Linked DNA regions of Homo sapiens: regions 1 and 3 are each linked to region 2. The links are contacts of gene promoters, found by promoter capture Hi-C in blood cells and fetal thymus (Javierre and others, 2016). All regions are on one chromosome and are shown on one strand. The core of a region is centred on a gene start or on the middle of the fragment in contact, and the rest is flanking DNA. Distances in the headings are between cores, read along the strand shown.

Region 1 (3,041 bases), core at 226-2,725, 930 kb before region 2:
ATATTCTAAACTCAAAAGTAACTTAAATCCATTTTATCCTATCTTACCTCACTTTGTGAAAGAGAAACCTTATAACAAACCACAATTCTTTTGTTTTTACAAAGGAAAAAATTAGAAAACATAAGTTACTTTTCTAGTAGAAAAAGGAAATAACGAATACTGAAATGTGGGAAATATGAACGGTAATGAATATATTTTAAGGTAAATATCCAAGGTATTATTTGGTCAATCAGAAACTTAGAATCTGAATAATGCCTAAAGTTTCAACGCTAAACAAGGTAAATGAATTATTCTTTATTTCCAGTAACAAGACAAGAGAAAATGAGTGCCTGGGTCTACAATCAGCAACTGCTGATTCTGAACTTAAGTGACTTTTTTTTTTTTTTTTCTGATAAAGGATGAAGAAATTTTGAATATAATCTAACAAACCACATGAAAATGTTAAACAATTTTTCCTTTTCATATTCCATCTGATCCCAGTCAAGAGTAAAGAGAATATGAGTCAAGAGAAAATAAAATTAAACATTAAGCATTTGCTTCTCTGGGTGGAATGGCTTAAAGCTTTCCCTCCCAAGGTCTAGGAAACTTGCTTTTTTAAAAAAAAAGTTTTCCTAAGGATTTTTCTACATTTTAATGCAATTTTAGAAATTTTTTTAGATTTCCAACAAATATAAGATAAACCGTTTTGGAAAGTATGAATAATTCCAGAAACAGAGACTTTGTTTCTAGGCCATGAAACTTAATTTCCTCTTAATATTCACTTACCTACAGCCCAAACTCTCCATGTATTTTGCCAGATATTACTTATGAGCTACAAACAGGGCAATTACTTTTTCTGCTTCATGAGATTACTCATACACACACAAAAAAAGCATTTTAAGGCTGCTGCTGCTGATTGCATCTGAGGCCACAGAAGTTACCCTGCGCCTTCCTCTGAAGACACAAAGCAAACTTTCCTTTCTCCTGATTCGGGTAATTTCCACCACAGAACAGCTTTTCCATAGCAGTAATAAACTAGTTTGGGAATCTTTGGAAGCCAAACAACAATAAAATACAAAAAATGTAGATGGCATATGGCTGGTGTTAGTCTGTTTTCCCTTCAAGTTCTTCCCGGTTTTTGATAGCTTCATAAGGGCCTAATTGTTGGCAGCACCAAAATAAAAGATTTTTAAACTTTATACTTACTAAGTGCTTTTTGTCATTTCCTCACCTCTCTATACATTCCTACCTGATCACCAAATTATTATGGAGATTTGAACAGTGCTTGGCTTATAGTATTCAGTAAATGTTGATAACAATTGTCATTATCCAGAGACAGAAAATATGTTCAATATTTAAATCTTAACCTATTTTTATCAATGATTACTTGAGAAAATCAAGTGTAATTCAAGCTGAACTCTTTCAAATTGTAGGACATGTTTATTTTTAAGCCTAAATGTTATGTCTCTCTAGCCTAGCTATATAAAATAGCCTTTCTCTCAAAGCCAATGCTAGGGCAAGAAAATGGACAGGGGACTAGATTAAAAGAACTGAGAGAAACATAAAAAAAAAAAATGCAATTGAAACCTGATTGGCTCTAGATCCAAATAAAAATCTACACACTTTGGAATATGGGCTGGATATGGCTGACATTACAGAATTATTCATTTTATTAGGTATTATAATGGTATTGTGGTTATAAAGGAGGATGTCCTCAATCTTAGAAAATGTAGGCTGAAATATTTAGGGGCGAAGTACTGTGACCTCGTCACCTTATTTTCAAATGTTTCAGCAAAAAGTTATATATTTAAATAGAAAAAGCAAATGTGGCACAATATTAACAACTCATGAATTTAACTGAAGAGTTTATTATACTTTCAACTTTTCTGCAGATGTAACATTTTTTAAATAAAAAGTTGAGAATAAAAAAATCACAAAAATAGTTTTGCTGAAGAAAATACCACACATTCCTTTTTACTATAATATTTAATATAATAATATACACTTATACATTGGTATTATTTACACTTCATTAAAAAAAACCCATTCAACCTGAAATTAACTACCTTAAACACACTATTTAACTTTCAGTGCTAATGTATTAATTTCTTAAATATAAATCAAAATAGCTCAATATCTAAATTACTGATAACTAGATGCAGATGTAAGGATCATGAATCAATACTTCCATTAAGTTAAAAATATCAATAATTTTTTGCAACATTTCTTCTTTGTTTTTCTTCTTTGTCTAGAATAGTCTGTTTTAAGCTCAAAGTAGCATCTTGAAATCCAGGATTTAAGTCTAAGACCTTCTTGAAATCTTCCAAAGCATCATCAAAATATCCTGTACCAGAACCCAAAAAATGGAAAAGAGAAAAGAAACCGAGTATTTCTATATATTATTCATGGAAAAGCTTTGATACATGTACTTTTGCTTTTATATTTATGAGCTTTCAGTCACTTCTAGTAAAGGAATCTTTTTATCTTAATAATATAGAGATGTGTATATCAAAGTAATTTTGTGTGCCCTTAGGGAATAATACACCTAAAATTAGCTATGGGTTTATTTATTGAGATTTAACAGGTAAATATTATCAATCATCTTAAAATTTTAATAAAACTGTATCACCTGTTTTACATAATTGCAGTAAAATTAAGAAACGGGAACTAATTTTCTTTTTGACACTTTAAATGAAGAAACACTACCTATGGTCCCTTTAATCCAAGAATCTAAACTTCACTTTCTATTGTCTTGTGTGTCTTCAAAGATTTTAACTCAGAAAAGTTTCACAGGTGAACATCTGAATTGCCCTCATTTCACAGCTGGGAATGCACAAGCACAAAGTAATGGGGTCACCCCTGCTCCTGCGCCCAGGTCCAATTCCCACCCCAGTGCTCTGCTGTGATCTATAACGCCTATCAAAAGCCTAAAATAAACTCAGGGACACTTCCTTTGTTCCAAGCTCTAAACCTAAATTTCACAGAACTTTAAAATTTGATTACCACGTTAGTTTTACAACATTTGAAAGCTCTGAAATAACAGAATACAGTCAATGACAAAA
Region 2 (2,945 bases), core at 377-2,876:
ATGAAGCTGGAAACCATCATTCTCAGCAAACTATCGCAAGGACAAAAAACCAAACACCACATGTTCTCACTCATAGGTGGGAATTGAACAATGAGAACACTTGGACACAGGAAGGGGGAGATCACACACCGGGGCCTGTTGTGGGGTGGGGTGAGTGGGGAGGGATAGCATTAGGAGATATACCTAATGTAAATGACAAGTTAATGGGTGCAGCACACCAACATGGCACATGTATACATATGTAACAAACCTGCACGTTGTGCATATGTACCCTAGAACTTAAAGTATAATTTTAAAAAAATTAAAAAAAAGAAAGAAAAAATCCTCCAGTCTGAAGGCATTAAGTTATCAAAAAGCAAAATATTAAAATATAAAATTTTAGATGGGCACCCACTGTGTTGCCCTGATTATCCCCCTAGAATGCTACATGCTGGAAAGAGGGGCCTTAGCAGGTTTCTAAGTCTTTAACCTTCAGGTGGAAAAATGGGGAAACACACAAGAGACACTCCTACGTATAGTTTCAGAAAGAAGTTTAATTAAAAAACAGCTTTTGAGAATAAACATTCTGGAGATGCTTCTAAATCTTCTGGGTTTCTTTTGGTTGTATCTCTTTCTCCATACAGATTTGTTCTTTCAACTCAAGGACTATCAACTCTTTTTTTTTTTTTGAGACTGAGTCTCACTTTGTCGCCCAGGCTAGAGTGCAGTGGCGCCATCTCGGCTCACTGCAAGCTCCACCTCCCGGGTTCACGCCATTCTCCTGCTTCAGTCTCCCGAGTAGCTGGGACTACAGGCGCCCGCCACCACGCCCGGCTAATTTATTTATTTATGTATTTATTTTTGTATTTTTAGTAAAGATGGGGTTTCACCGTGTTAGCCAGGATGGTCTCGATCTCCTGACCTCCTGATCCGCCCGCCTCGGGGTCCCAAAGTGCTGGGATTACAGGCGTGAGCCACGGCGCCCGGCCAGGACTATCAACTCTTGTGTTTGGTACACAGGACACAAAGCAGGTGTCCGGTAACTACTTGCGAGGGAAGATACGAATTAACCAAGGAATAAAGTGTTCCAATCTGCATTCTGTCTTGCGTGGGGAACAAAACCAAACTAAGACCCAAGGATGAGGGTTTACGGTTAAGGTCTTCAGCGTGAATAAAAGGCGGCGTGAGCACTAAACGCCGGGGGCAAAGAACACTCCCGGCCCAGAGTTTGACCCCTCCTAGCGAGTTCTTCCCGGCCAGCTGCCCAACTTTTTGGCCTCTACTCCTCCGCGGGGGCACCATAAGACTCCCTACAGGTGGGCTACACTTAGGGGTTCAAATGCTGCATTACCGCGCTCGGGTGAGCGACTGCCCGGCCTGCAACTCAAGGGACTCCCAGGCCAAGTGGCTCCGAACTCGCGAGCTGTCGGAACAGTATTATTTTTGCTGCTACGGGCCATCTGGCCCAGGGCAACAGGGGCTCTGCGAGGAACCATAGAGAAGAAGGGGCGCCAGATCCCGCGTGCCTGCCCACCCGTCCTTCCTTTGGGCAGTCACCCTGAGCTCGGCAAGCTGTACCTCACCTGTCCACCTGGAAGGCTGCCCGCTCTCCCTGAGGGTCCTGGGAAGGCGGCACGAGACCGGAAGTGCCCCCCTCAGGTGACGTCACAGTACCGCGCCGGAGCTGATCCGGGAAGCCGATGTCAGCCTGGCGCGCGGCGCACAGCTGGCTGGGAGATTTCTTACTGGCTTGGAGCCGGTGGTCCAGATCAGAGAGACCTCTTGGAGGGTGTCGGGGTTTTCCTTTCTTTTTCATTTGAATTTTATCCGCCTTTTATTTTCTGTCATCCTTGATGTGCTTCTGGCTTCTGGCTTCCCTTTCCTTCTCTCTCATTTGTTCCATGTCTGCCCCTCTTTTCTCCCTCTTCCCATTTCCCTCTTTCTGCGTTACTAGTTGCATATCTTCCCCACATACACAGGAAAGTTGATTCTCATTTGATCATGTTCATAAGCATGATCAATAAAGTATTTTTTTAATTAAGGTGTTGCCAACTTTAAGAAAATTCAGAGAATAATATTAAGTATAGAGTTTATTTGGGCTCAGTGCTTGAGAATGGCCACTCAGGAGCTTAGATTCAAGTTGCCTTGAATATACACTCCAATTAGCAGCAGTCGGAGTAGGTTTTTTTTTTTTTTTTTTTTTTTTTTTGAGACGGAGTCTTGCTCTGTCGCCCAGGCCGGACTGCGGACCGCAGTGGCGCAATCTCGGCTCACTGAAAGCTCCGCTTCCCGGGTTCACGCCATTCTCCTGCCTCAGCCTCCCGAGTAGCTGGGACTACAGGCGCCCGCCACCGCGCCCGGCTAATTTTTTGTATTTTTAGTAGAGACGGGGTTTCACCTTGTTAGCCAGGATGGTCTCGATCTCCTGACCTCATGATCCACCCGCCTCGGCCTCCCAAAGTGCTGGGATTACAGGCGTGAGCCGGTTTTTAAGGAAAGGAGAGGAGGCAGAGCTTAACTTGTTTACCAAGAATTTATATTTAAAAAACTTAAGCTATTGACTGGCTATGCTTTCTTCCTTGTATCACAAATTCCAGGAACATAAAGATAATGGGTGAGGCAGCTAATAAAGAACAAAATGCCTTTAACAATTGCCCTAAGGCATGGGAAGGCGTGGCGGAAGCCAGTATTCACTTCTGTCCGGGTCTAATAAATTTTGCATACCTCACATAGCTCAGACAGCTCTGGGCTATTTTTCTTTTCTTAGTATGTACTTTTTTTAGACATAATACTGTTGTACACAATAATCTACAGTACAGTGTAAATATAAATTTTATATGCACTGGGAAACCAAAAAAATTCTGTGAACTGCCTTATTGTGATGTTTGCTTTATTGTGGTAGTATGGAACTGAACCCCCAATATCTTCAAAGTATGCTTGGATTTAAAAAAGAGGTTTACTTAGCT
Region 3 (3,433 bases), core at 194-2,693, 910 kb before region 2:
AGCCACAAAATGGGAATTCATGAGAAATAAACAGAGAACATTATTAGCTATGTAAAAGACATAAGAAATGATCCATTATGGATCACAACTGTTTATCTTTCAAATTAATAATAAATGAAAACAGACGCATATCAAGAAAAAATCACTCCCTCAACAATACTTGTGTAAATAAACGGTCCAACTTAGTGACAATGTTTCAACAGAAGCTATAACTACAAAATGGATATTTCTGTTTAAGTTATCTTCATTATAAATAGAGGCAAGTTTTCTGCACAATCATATGAAAGTGTAAATTCCAAATGCCATCTCTTAAATGAGACTAAAAGGACAGGTTTTAAAATAGAAGAATAGGGCTATTAGAAACAATTCAGATTGTAAAAAATGTCTTAAAATGCCATCGCCTCACTTCTGAAAATACAATAAAGAAGACATTCGACACTTATTTAATTAAATATGGCTATAGAGAAAGCTCATTTCATTATTACAATTGTTTAACTTCCTTGTAACATGGGTTATAAAAATTCTCTAAATTCAACTTTGCCCCACTCCCATGCTTCCCCCACTCCCTACTCCCTTCAAGATTTTTTAATGAATTCAGTTACCTTGACACTGTGAGAAAAAAATTTATTTGGAATATTTCCATGGTATCATGTAACCAAAAACAAGATAAACAAAAGAGAGAGGGTGAGAGAAAACATGGTTGATTTTCATACATTTATATGAAAATCGGCCTTATTATTTCACAGTTGTATTGCCATAAAAATTATTTTATTAACATATATTTTGTGCAAAAATTCAACTATAAATAATGAGGCTGATTTTCATACAAAACTCACAGAAATAAACCTTATTACATATACAGCATATAGCCATGTATATATGCTACATATATTTTACAGTTATATACAGTTTATCATTCCTTTATCCCACTGGACTATGGCATAAGGGGCAGAAGCTGTAGTGGCTTATTTCCTGAGCAAGGACACCGTGTTTGCATACACTGCACATCCAGAATTGATACTCAGTGATTGGGCTTCCTGTGGCAACGCATGTTGGCAGTTTCCCTTCTCCACTGTAAAACGGGGAGAAACAATTCATTATACTTTAAAACTTCTCATTAGTCTAACTTTATTTAATACACTTAAAAAAAACCTAAAGAATAAAACTTCTGAGATGAACATCAAATACTTTCATTTAAAAAAGTTATTTCAAGAAAAAACCTTTCTTACAATGACAAAATAAAGCATGAATACACTTGTAAAAATAAATAAAATAGGGTATAATGTTAATGTGAATTGCTTCAAAATTCAGTGCTTTAATTCCTACATTAAACATTGTACATCTAGAAATCCAAGCTTCTAATAAGATAGAATGGCATCCACTAATTAAAATTAGCCTACCCTTCCATAAGGCTGTCCAATTCAGGTTTTCTGTTATCTTTTGAAGTATGTTTGGTGAAGATTTCTAAAGCAAGGTCTTCATACTGCTGTTTCTGTTCTGAACTGAGGGTCTCTAAAGATTTAAGTTTAATGAAAGCTTTTGAACAAGTCCCAAAGGCTCTGCTGGCGCATGCGCAGAGTGCTAGCAGAGAGTAGATCTCCACAGGAGGGATGATGTCTTCATAGTCTTTCAGGTGAAGAGCTAAGAAAAACAGGGCAATTGGGGTTTTTTAAAATAATTATTATGATATCATGAACATGCAAAAGAAGAATCTAAGTTAAGGTGATTTCATTGAACTTGCATGAACGAACTGAAAGCAAACAGTGTTGAGAGATGGGAGCACCAAGAGGAGGAACTAGGCTACATGATATCCAAGGTTCTGTGAAGCTGGCTAACAGCTCATCCTATGAAAAGAACCACCACCAAATGCTGCACATGGCTGTGCCAGCTCAGAAATACACACACACACACAAAATTTTGGTGTCAAAACATCCACATTTTCTTCAATTTATGTTAGAAATTTCTGTGGCACTTCATAAAAAGCAAATGAGTATTATACTATGTTAGTCATAAACTGCAAGATAATACCATGTTTCCTTTTGTTAAAAAAAAAGCAAAACAATATAAGCAAAACAGTATAAAATAATATGTTCTTTTCTCTGTGTTTCTTTGGACAGATTATTGCTTTTGTATTACTGCTTTTGTCATTTGTCTCACTGAAACAATAGGATTTTGTGAAAAAGTGAAAATGAGTCTCCAAGTTGTCAGTTGAGACAATTCAAGTTACAACATCTTATTTGCAATTATACTGGAGATGAAAAAATCTTTCTTTAAAATGCACTGTATTCTTGGGCCTGTTGGGGGTGGGGGGCTAGGGGAGGGATAGCATTAGGAGAAATACCTAATGTAGATGACGGTTGATGGGTGCAGCAAACCACCATGGCACATGTATACCTATGTAACAAGCCTGCACGTTCTGTACATGTACCCCAGAACTTAAAGTATAATAAAAAAAGCAGACTTAATATTAGATTTAATATTAAGATTTAATATTAGATTTATAACCAATTTGTATCTTTTTCTTCTCTAGACCTTGGAATCTTAAAAATACTTTGTTATAGTATATCAAAAACTTCATAAAACCAGTTTAAACAATATATTCATGTGTTTTACAATCAGAATCCTATAAACTGGTTCTGGGGTCAAGTATTTACAACAAAGTGTAGTAGAAAAAATGTATATAAAATGTAATCACTCAGTTACAATAAACAATATCCTCTAATTTCATATCCAAAGCATGATAGGTTCAAGGGTAATAATTTACAGGTCATACATTGTTTCAGATCGTCTTACCACTGACAAAAAAAAAAAAAATGAGGCATATAGAGATCTTCACCTAGTAGGTGAAGCATCTCAAGTTAAAGATCTAATTGTTCTTTTAAGTCTAGAAATGGTGTATAAATTGAATATGATACAGCTATTTTAAACAGTGTATAATTTATGTCACATATTAGTTAAAACTAAATGAAGGTCAGTTATAAAATAAACATAAAAATAATTTTTATATATAACTAATAACCAATTAGAAAAAAAATTTACAACCTCATTAATGACAACAAAACTAGGAATAAACTGAAAAATAAACCTTTAGAGCCAGCAAGAAGAAAACTACAAATCTTTAGAAACACAGATACATAAGTGATTTCTAAAATAGATGTTTCTGACAAATATCACATGTTCTCACTCATATGTGAGATCTAAAAAAGTTGACCTCGTGGAGCGTGCAGTGAGCTGAGATTATGCCACTGCACTCTAGCCAGGGCAACAGAGCGAGACTCCATCTAAAAAAAAAAAAAAAAAAAAAGTTGGCCTTGGCTGGCAAGATGGACGAATAGGAACAGCTCTGGTCTGCAGCTCCCAGCAAGATTGACGCAGAAGGTGGGTGATTTCCGCATTTCCAACTGAGGTACCAGGTTCATCTCATTGGGACTAG

The links. Contacts are between HindIII fragments. The CHiCAGO score rates a contact against its expected background, and 5 or more counts as called.
Region 1: a fragment that was not itself captured here is called in contact with the fragment with the promoter of LDAH in region 2 in 1 of 17 cell types (total CD8 T cells); the score reaches 6.4 in total CD8 T cells.
Region 3: a fragment that was not itself captured here is called in contact with the fragment with the promoter of LDAH in region 2 in 3 of 17 cell types (total B cells, naive B cells and total CD8 T cells); the score reaches 6.1 in total B cells.

What each region holds. Positions count from the first base shown.
Region 1 is chr2:19,894,804-19,897,844 of GRCh38, forward strand. TTC32 (tetratricopeptide repeat domain 32) reads right to left here. Exons shown (of 3, transcript NM_001008237.3): 3 at 1,828-2,323. The coding sequence ends at 2,184. Among named protein-coding and RNA genes, the nearest start is that of TTC32, 5.7 kb to the right of the region's middle. The HindIII fragment of the contact is 1,832 bases long and covers 560-2,391 here.
Region 2 is chr2:20,821,475-20,824,419 of GRCh38, forward strand. LDAH (lipid droplet associated hydrolase) reads right to left here and starts at 1,627. Exons shown (of 7, transcript NM_021925.4): 1 at 1,563-1,627. RefSeq lists enhancers at 503-1,328, 1,131-1,200, 1,421-1,810. The HindIII fragment of the contact is 14,255 bases long and covers 1-2,945 here.
Region 3 is chr2:19,912,637-19,916,069 of GRCh38, forward strand. WDR35 (WD repeat domain 35) reads right to left here. Exons shown (of 27, transcript NM_020779.4): 26 at 1,401-1,641; 27 at 1-1,072. The coding sequence ends at 922. Among named protein-coding and RNA genes, the nearest start is that of TTC32, 12 kb to the left of the region's middle. The HindIII fragment of the contact is 181 bases long and covers 1,354-1,534 here.